Regions from separate parts of the Homo sapiens genome. Here all the other regions are linked to region 3. Evidence: promoter capture Hi-C in 16 types of primary human blood cells and fetal thymus (Javierre and others, 2016). All regions are on one chromosome and are shown on one strand. Each heading gives the region's core, a stretch centred on a gene start or on the middle of the fragment in contact. The rest is flanking DNA. Distances are from core to core; before and after follow the strand shown.

Region 1 (2,987 bases), core at 270-2,769, 280 kb after region 3:
CATATAGAAAATGAGTGAATGATCTTACCTCATTTGTGAGAATGAGAAGCTCAGAGAGGACCTGGCAAGCTTATATCCAGAAGCCAACTGGTTTGTTTTCACCAAGAACAGAAAAAGAAAGAGAAAAAGGAAGGGAAGGGAAGAAAAAAAAATACACTTACTTTGTACTGTAGGTAACTTTGGTTAGAGAGGAAGAAGCAAACAGCCTTCTGATTTGGCAATTATTAGCATTAAAATGAACCATTAAAGAAGGTTGTGAGGTTGCCTTCAGCAGTCTTTGAGTATAGGATAGAATATCAAGCTTTTAGAAAAGATTTGGTTCAGTGGGGTTTTGCCTATCTGCTCAGGCTTGGGGTATGTGAAAAGAACTTAGATTAGATTGCTCTGCCAAATTTTATTCATATATATATATATATATACACACACATATATAATTTATAAATACTTATTGATATAATTTTTACATATACAATAAGTAAAATACCTTCATATTTTCAACAAAGATTTATTAAGTATCAGTTGTTTGTTAGGCACCAGGAATACAGAGATAGGAAACACTGTTTTAACACTCTAGGAGCTCAAAATTTACTGCTGCAATAAAATTGAACTTGGAGTAAAATCAGATAAAGATCGACTTAATCTTAGTGATAAAAATGTGTCTTTACATTGCAAATTGGTAGAATCCTTCTAAAAAAGTATAAATGATTTAGCAATGTGTAAAATATTAAAAGGACAATTTTAACCAAAAAGGCAAATAAAAATTACACAACATTTGATTCTGTATCTGCCAAGGAGAAGTATATAGGCAAAAAAAAAAAAAAAAAGGAATAAAAGGAAACCTGGGGTAAAGAAAACAGTAGTGTGAGGGGTAGGGCCTTACACCTACCAATTCTTATAAAATTTCCTTTAATGCTACCATGCATTACATTTCAAAACAGTAAGTGAAAGTGTGAAAGACTATATCAACGTACCCTTTATATTTGTACTTGAGTAAACAGAAGACATACAGGATGAACTCAGTGGCATATTTAACTTATTCTTTTGTTCAGTTGTGATTCTTCTTTCTATTTACTCAGTCTAGAACTCTTGTATTTATTCTACATGCTGGCACTAGACTTAGTCCTGGAGGTACAAAAGGCAAATAAAACCTGTCCTTAACCAGAGTCTTAGAATCTCCAGGGAGAGACTCAGATATACACTCAAAATACCTTACAGTGTAATTAGTAAAAAAAAAAAAAGAAAGGTATTTAAAGGTCCAAATGAGGGCAGAAGAGGGAAAGCCCATCTCTGCCTGGGCAGCTGAGAATGAGAGTAAAATGGAGGAAAGTAGGGGCCAGGGCAGACTTTCCATGGGGATGGGGCTTTAGTTGAGGGCTGATTGCTAATGGAATTAGAAGTCACCTGCAAGAAGGGTGCAGTGAGAAGGAAGGAGAGTGACAGGTAGTGGGAAGGGGGAAATTCCAAGCAGATGAGGCGATGAGGTAAGGAGATGTTAAAGAAGAGCATCTCTTCTAAGAAACTGAAGATATTTCTATGTACAAGGCAGTTTGGGGGCAGCCAACAGGAGGTGGGCAGAAAAGAAAGGCAGAGACCGGTCTGTTGGAGGACGCCTCTCACCCACAGTTCCAGGTACTGACACAGAAAAGCAGAGGCCAGGAGTCATTTGCCGGGTGAACCTTGGTCAAAGGGAAAGCCAGAGAGCAATTTCTAGCACAAGCTGCAGATCCAAAGGGCAGGACTGACATGAGGCTCCAGGGTGCAGAGCTGGAATATGGTTGGCAAAACAGAGAAGGCAGAAGATGGGCAGAATGGCATGGAACAAATCCGGAGCAGCCACAGTGCAGCAAAGGCTTGGAGGGCTTGTGGGGTTTTATTTAAAGGGCCTGGAGAGGAGTGTGCTGGGCAACGTCACAGGCATCTTGTGTGCCAGGCTAAGGCATCTAGACATTAATGGTTTGTGATGGGAAACCACTGGAGAGTTTCTTCCCCAGCAATGACATGATGAGGTTTGCATTTACAGGAAGATTGCTCTGAAAGGAGCATGCGGGATGGATCGGAGGGGAGTGAGGATGGAGGCTGCCGGGGGCACCAAGGGGAGGGTTATAGGAGGTCCAGTCACAAGGCTTACCGTTATGTTTATCTTAGGTCATGAACTGTGAGAGACGAGCTGTCAGTATAAAGAGCATTTTGTTTATTCTTGTAAAATCTCTGGCATATATTGCAATGATCACCAATGTGAGCTTTTGAGATTGGATAGTAAATGTGTTTACAGCTGCCTGTGTAGAGGGCGGGATGTCAAAAGTCCCATTAGAGCACATTCCACTTGCCCAGTCATTTTAGTGAGTCAATTTGCTAAATTATAGACTTATTTCAGCATACAAATCAGCAATTCTGGAAGCTGATAGTTTGCCTGGCAGCTTCTTTTGAACATCTCCATTTTTTCTTAGAGTGTTGTCTACAGGTAAAATCAATTTAACTATTTTGAAAGATCTACCTTATCCCCAGTGCTATCGTCTGAATGTTTGTGTTGCCCACCCCCCCCACCCAAATTCATATGTTGAAATTCTCGCTCCCAAGGTGATAGCACTAGTAGGTGGGGCCTTTGGGGTGTGATTAGGCTATGAGGCTGCAGCCCTCGTGATTGGAATAAGTGTCCTTATTAAAGATGCTCCGGGGAGCTGCCTTGCCCCCTCCAGCAAGTAAGGACACAGCAGAAAGGCACCGTCTATGTATCAGGGAAAGCTTCCTTGATCTTGGGTGTTCCAGGCTCCATAACTGTGAGAAATAAATTTTTGTTGTTTATAGGCCACCTAGTTTATGGTATTTTGTTATAGCGACCCAAATAAACTAAGACAAACCTGGAGCATATTGTGGTGCCAGGTAGTAAAATGATGAAGGAATGTTTAAAGGACACGATCCAGCTTGTTGGAGCCCCCTCTGGGTTAATCTAAGACACTTTGAGCATCAAAATCCATAATGATAGTAAT
Region 2 (2,986 bases), core at 302-2,801, 300 kb after region 3:
TTTTGTATGTGGTTCCGTACAAATTTTAGGATTGTTTTTTCTATTTCTGTGAAAAAAGCCATTGGAATTTTGGTAGGGGTTGCATTAAATCTGGGTATTGCTTTGGGTGGTATGGACATAAACAATCCGGTTTCTTTTCCGCTTGCATAAATCTTTTGGCTTTTCTTCTTCTCTTTTCAAATAGAACTTTAAACTCCTCACTTTTCTACTATGCAGAACAATTTAACAGACAGCACTTGTTTCTTGAGCATGCACCAGCAGGATATGGGGTGAGTCTTACCCTTGACCAGTAGTTATTAATCAAGACATCTATTCCAGGACAAATACGATGCTTTCCCTAACAGGGATTTGGGTGAATGAGATTTTTCTTCATCTCATTACGTTTTCACATATACTTCTAAATAAATGATTCCCTTCCTTTGTTCTTTCAACATAGTGCTTAATTTCCAGAAATACAACCTTGTTTCCTCTCTTTTTGGTTCTCTGCTCAGGTCAACACCCATCATCTAGTTTTAGACCCACAGCTGATTACATGGTTCTAAAATAAGCCAGACTGCTCCAGATTGTAGCATTTATAGGTTGTTGAAAGTGCTGGTGACTCAGTTCCTGGAGTTTGTCAAACACCACCACTGCCAACACAAGCTATGTTTTGCCATCATCTTCATTATTATTGTTGTCATCCTCATTATTTTTTGCTTTCCATTGGATTTCTAGGTTTCCCACTCTGCTTATTTTGTTCTACTAGTGAGCTGTTCTTTTTTTTTGGTACTCTTTAAAAGAATTCTAAAGGTTAAAATAGTGTATGTAATAGTTGCTTGATGGATTCACTTTGGCCGATTCAAGGCATATTGATCATATGAAGGCTGATCATTTGGTTGTGGACTTCTTGTCCTGCTGTCTTAAGAAAGACTTTTGAGGCCGGGCGCGGTGGCTCACACCTGTAATCCCAGCACTTTGGGAGGCCGAGGCGGGCGGATCACGAGGTCAGGAGATCGAGACCATCCTGGCTAACACGGTGAAACCCCGTCTCTACTAAAAATAAAAAAAATTAGCCGGGCGAGGGGGCGGGCGCCTGTAGTCCCAGCTACTCGGGAGGCTGAGGCAGGAGAATGGCGTGAACCCCAGGGGGCGGAGCCTGCAGTGAGCCGAGATTGCGCCACTGCACTCCAGCCTGGGCGACAGCGAGACTCCGTCTCAAAAAAAAAAAAAAAAAAAAAAAAAAAAGAAAGACTTTTGAAAAATGTGGTGATAGAAACACCTTGCAGCACGCTAAGGGAGCCATGCTATGGTCTGAATGTGCCCTCCCCAAATTCATGTGTTGAAACTTAATTGCCAATGTGATAGTATTAAGAGGTGGGGGTTTAAGTCATGAGGGCGGAGCCTTTGGGATTAGCATGTTTAAAAGAGGTGTGAGGGAACTGGTCACACTTTCTGCTACATGAGGATGCAATAAGAGGTGCCATCTTGGAGATAGAGAGCAGTTCTCACCAGACACTAAATCTGCTGGTGCCTTCATCTTGGACTTTCCAGCCTCCAGAACTGTGAGAACATAGATTTGGCATGGCCACTTTCCCCTTCCAACTCATCCATCGGGGAGTAGGTAACAATGTGTTATGGCTGCGGAGCTTTCTCCCTACAAAGGAAACACCAGGAATGACGAAGCAATCATTTCCCCCAACAGTCCTTTGCTTCTTTTTTTTTTTTTCTTTTTTTTAAAATTATATTTTCAATTGTTTTCAACTTTTATTTTAGGTTCATGGGGTACATGTGCAGGTTGTTATATGGGTAAATTGCATGTTGCAGGGATTTGGCGTACTAATAATTTTGTCACCCAGGTAATCAACATAGTACCCAATAGGTAGTTTTTAAATCCTCACCCTTCTCCCACTTTCTACCCTCAAGAAGGCCCTGGTGTCAATTGTTCCGTTGTTTGTGTCCATGTGTACTAAATGTTTACCTTCCACTTATTTTATTTATTTATTTATTTATTTATTTTATTTTCTTATTATTATACTTTAAGTTTTAGGGTACATGTGCACAACGTGCAGGTTTGTTACATATGTATACATGTGCCATGTTGGTGTGCTGCACTCATTAACTCGTCTTTTAGCATTAGATATATCTCCTAATGCTATCCCTTTCCCCTCCCCCCACCCCACAACAGTCCCCGGTGTGTGATGTTCCCCTTCCTGTGTCCATGTGTTCTCATTATTCAATTCCCACCTATGAGTGAGAACATGCGGTGTTTGGTTTTTGTCCTTGCGATAGTTTGCTGAGAATGATGGTTTCTAGCTTCATGTCCCTACAAAGGACATGAACTCATCATTTTTAATGGCTGCATAGTATTCCATGGTGTATATGTGCCACATTTTCTTAATCCAGTCTATCCTTGTTGGACATTTGGGTTGATTCCAAGTCTTTGCTATTGTGAATAGTGCCGCAATAAACATACGTGTGCATGTGTCTTTATAGCAGCATGATTTATAGTCCTTTGGGTATATACCCAGTAATGGGATGGTCGGGTCACATGGTATTTCTAGTTCTAGATCCCTGAGGAATCGCCACACTAACTTCCACAATGGTTGAACTAGTTTACCCTCCCATCAACACTGTAAAAGTGTTCCTATTTCTCCACATCCTCTCCAGCCCCTGTTGTTTCCTGACTTTTTAATGATCGCCATTCTAACTGGTGTGAGATGGTATCTCACTGTGGTTTTGATTTGCATTTCTCTGATGGCCAGTGATGGTGAGCATTTTTTCATGTGTTTTTTGGCTGCATAAATATCTTATTTTGAGAAGTGTCTGTTCATATCCTTCGCCCACTTTTTGATGGGGTTGTTTGTTTTTTTCTTGTAAATTTGTTTGAGTTCACTGCAGATTCTGGATATTAGCCCTTTGTCAGATGAGTAGGTTGCATAAATTTTCTCCCATTCTGTAGGTTGCCTGTTCACTCTGATGGTAGTTTCTTTTGCTGTGCAGAAGCTCT
Region 3 (3,202 bases), core at 556-3,055:
TTTTCTTCTTCAAAATTGTTTTAAATACTGTAAATTTTTTTTCTACATAAATGTGAAAAACGTTAGAAGGGCAACTGCAGCAGACATACATAGCTTATTTTTTTAAGATTAACAGCAACTTTATACTAGCAAAATGAAAAAAAATTAACTGAATAAACAGGTAACTGAATTAACTAGCTGTAACACTAGACTACAAAGTTATACAAGATTAAAAGTTATGAGGTACTATTTATTATATGTAAATATTACAAATATTTTTTGTTAAAAATATCTAAGGCTTTTGAGTTTTTGAAATGCAAGCTTTCCCCTATACTTAAGTATATTCATTATCTTACTGCTTTGGTCAGGACAAGAACTGAAAAAGAGAAATAATCTTGAGTTCAGAATGAACAATTCTTGCTATATATATTTTCCCACATGTGTTAGGAATGTTCTGTAAACCTTCCGAGAAATAGTGACTTGAACTAAATACTAAACTACTACCAAGCCCCAGGTGCATTTTTGGAAGTTTTTAGTCATTGGGAGCCATGGCATTTCTTTTCTCTGTATTACAAACTGTTACACTCACTTTCTTTGACTATTAACATTGGAACAGTAGACCTCCTGTTCTGTGACTGACTGGCAGGCAGAAATGACACAGACAGGAAATGGGAAATGGTTCAGGGTCTTGGAATTCCCCCGGCTCCCTAATTAAGTGGCTTGCTATTTGGAAGTTTTTTAAATATTTGCCCCTTGGAGTTCCCCAGAGAGAAGCAAGCATCGGATTCAACGGGCAAAGAGCGTCAACTTCAAAAGTCGTTCGTTGGTTGTCATACCACAAACATTTACTGCACGACACTGTGTCTATGGCACTATTGGGGGAGTATGGCGGGGGGATACAAAAGGTCCATGACTAGCAAAAGCCAAGGGTTTTTATTTACAAATTTTCTATTACCTAAGCATTAAAAAAAATTGGGCTCCTCTCTGGTTTATGTACAATTATATGTGCATGTACACCAATACACAGGCAGACGTATATATTTCATTTTATTGAAACATTCAGAAAATACTGGGAGTGAAGCCTGACTTGCAATACAGTTCTCTTTGCTGGCAATGAGCATCTGAAATAATGACACTTTTTTCTTTAGTGCATATGAACTGTTTGTCTCCAGAACAGAAAACCAAAAGTTTAAAAACAAGATACTCCCGTTGACATCAAGTCTTCAGAATTATTCATCTGATGCTTCCTAGTTTCCAAAGTTTCGCTTTTTTCGATTTGCACAGGCAGCTGTTGAACGCTGATGCTACACAAACGGTTACAATTGTTTACTTAAGCAAAAAATGCCACCAGACTGACTCCATCCTCAAAATGCAGTCATCTGGACGGGGGGAGGCATCACACTTGGGGAGCCTTGCCAGGGGCCAGATCATAACCCTGAGGTGACACAGGGTAGGACGCGCAAAACCACCGGCGCCAGGGCGTTTCCGCAGGGTTTCCCAAAACTCAAACGCAGCGGCTCACGGTTTGCCACGTCCCCCAGGAGAATGGTAGACACAGAGAGGAAATGTGGAGAGGGCACAAACCGCAAGGTGAAGAAAACGAACAAACACCGAGTTGATACGGATAGTCCCCGTTCCCCTGAGGGCCGACCCCGTGACTCCCGATGAGCGTCCAGTTGCGCCGGGCATCCTGGCCTCCCAGCGTCTTTCCCGGAGGTTCATCGCCGCACGGCGGAAAGCGCTCTCGGTTCCGCTTTCCGGCCCCAGCCTCCCGGGCGCCCTCGCGCGGCGGCTAACGCTGGTCCTCGGCCGGGCGCGCTGACGTCATCGTGCGTCAGAGTGAGCCCGGATGGGGCGGCGGGCTTCGGGAGCGCCCGGGCTGATCCGAGCCGAGCGGGCCGTATCTCCTTGTCGGCGCCGCTGATTCCCGGCTCTGCGGAGGCCTCTAGGCAGCCGCGCAGCTTCCGTGTTTGCTGCGCCCGCACTGCGGTGAGTGCTGCTCCTTCCGGGCTCGGGCGGCGTGGGGCGGGTGGGGACGCGAGGGCCCGCGGGGGCCCACTTCCCTGATGTGGCGGCGAACGAGGAAGGACGGGGCCTGAGGCCCTTCGGCCAAGGGTCGAGGGTCGCCGGGGGCTCTCTGCTTTCTACTCTCGCCAAGGTTTTATTGGATTCGGAAGCCCCAACTTCGAGACTTGCAGTCAAAGCGATTTTTAAAATGACTTGTTTTCAAGCCTCTGGCCGCCGCCCACTCTTCTGGCCCTTGGACTTTGACCAAGATGTTTTCTCGCAGTTTTTGCAAGGTTTTAAACTTAGCCCTCGGCGTTCTTTTAATGTAATACATTGAAACGAAGATATTTCGGTGGCGGCGATATTTCATATTTCATAGTTGCCACTGCGCTCTGTCATTCCAGTAGTCGTCTGTTGTGTATTGTGAGAAGCAACTCTGGGAAATTATTGGGTAAATCCCATAGTTTCTATTCTTTTCCCTTCCATCCTATCCCCTGCCCAGCTGCAATTTGCGTAAAGAGAATGCAGCAGTGCGGTGCACGTAGATAAAAATCTTTCATTTAAAGATAGGATATAAGACCGGGTGTAATTAAAGCAATCATGCCAGTGGTCGTAGTGCCGGAGCCACTGTTTCACAGGCCACTGTGTTAGGTTTTGTTTTCGAGTTGCTTTCTGTGGTCGTTGCTTTGAAATTGTAAGGGAATGGCAGAGTTTAAGAGTTTATATTAATGAACTCGTGGTGCATTTTACTGCAGTTTTCCTAGTCGTGGAGAGACTTGATATTACAAACTAACGTTGCTGTCTTAATTCCTGCTGTACTGCTGCTGACAGGGTGTAGTGGAGTGTCTGTCTGTCTTTTTAACCAATGTGCCTTTGCCTCCAGCAGAGTGCCAGAGTTACCTTTAGGCCAGAAAAGGGGAGGAGAGCAAGGACAAAATGTTTCCTGTGTGAAAATTTCCATCTGTCTCTGAAGTTGTGCGTTTTAAAGACACGTATAGTTAGTGCTATGGGGAGTATGTTGCATTTACTTATTTTAATTAATAGCTTTTTCATTTAGAAAGTTGTGACAAATTGCTGGAATTAAGATGTATTATCTAAAGTGTGAATTATTCTTAGACTTTACTGAATAAATTGAAGAGTATGTAAGTTCTATTTGGCATGCACATACAGTTTTCTAAAATACTTTTTGTTTTTTCTTTTCAGATTTACAACCCTG

The links. The method cuts DNA at HindIII sites, captures the fragments that hold promoters and counts their contacts. A CHiCAGO score of 5 or more calls a contact.
Region 1: a contact is called between a fragment that was not itself captured here and the fragment with the promoter of BIRC2 in region 3, in 10 of 17 cell types (M1 macrophages, M0 macrophages, naive B cells and 7 more). The highest score is 8.2, in M1 macrophages.
Region 2: a contact is called between a fragment that was not itself captured here and the fragment with the promoter of BIRC2 in region 3, in 9 of 17 cell types (M1 macrophages, M0 macrophages, M2 macrophages and 6 more). The highest score is 14.8, in M1 macrophages.

What each region holds. Positions count from the first base shown.
Region 1 is chr11:102,629,068-102,632,054 of GRCh38, forward strand. No RefSeq gene overlaps it. Among named protein-coding and RNA genes, the nearest start is that of MMP20, 5.2 kb to the left of the region's middle. The HindIII fragment of the contact is 2,441 bases long and covers 300-2,740 here.
Region 2 is chr11:102,647,045-102,650,030 of GRCh38, forward strand. All of the region lies in intron 1 of MMP20-AS1 (MMP20 antisense RNA 1), which reads left to right. Among named protein-coding and RNA genes, the nearest start is that of MMP20-AS1, 7.4 kb to the left of the region's middle. RefSeq lists an enhancer at 1-56. The HindIII fragment of the contact is 4,636 bases long and covers 1-2,986 here.
Region 3 is chr11:102,345,409-102,348,610 of GRCh38, forward strand. It overlaps BIRC2 (baculoviral IAP repeat containing 2), which reads left to right and starts at 1,806. Exons shown (of 9, transcript NM_001166.5): 1 at 1,806-1,968; 2 at 3,190-3,202. RefSeq lists an enhancer at 2,358-2,427. The HindIII fragment of the contact is 3,484 bases long and covers 299-3,202 here.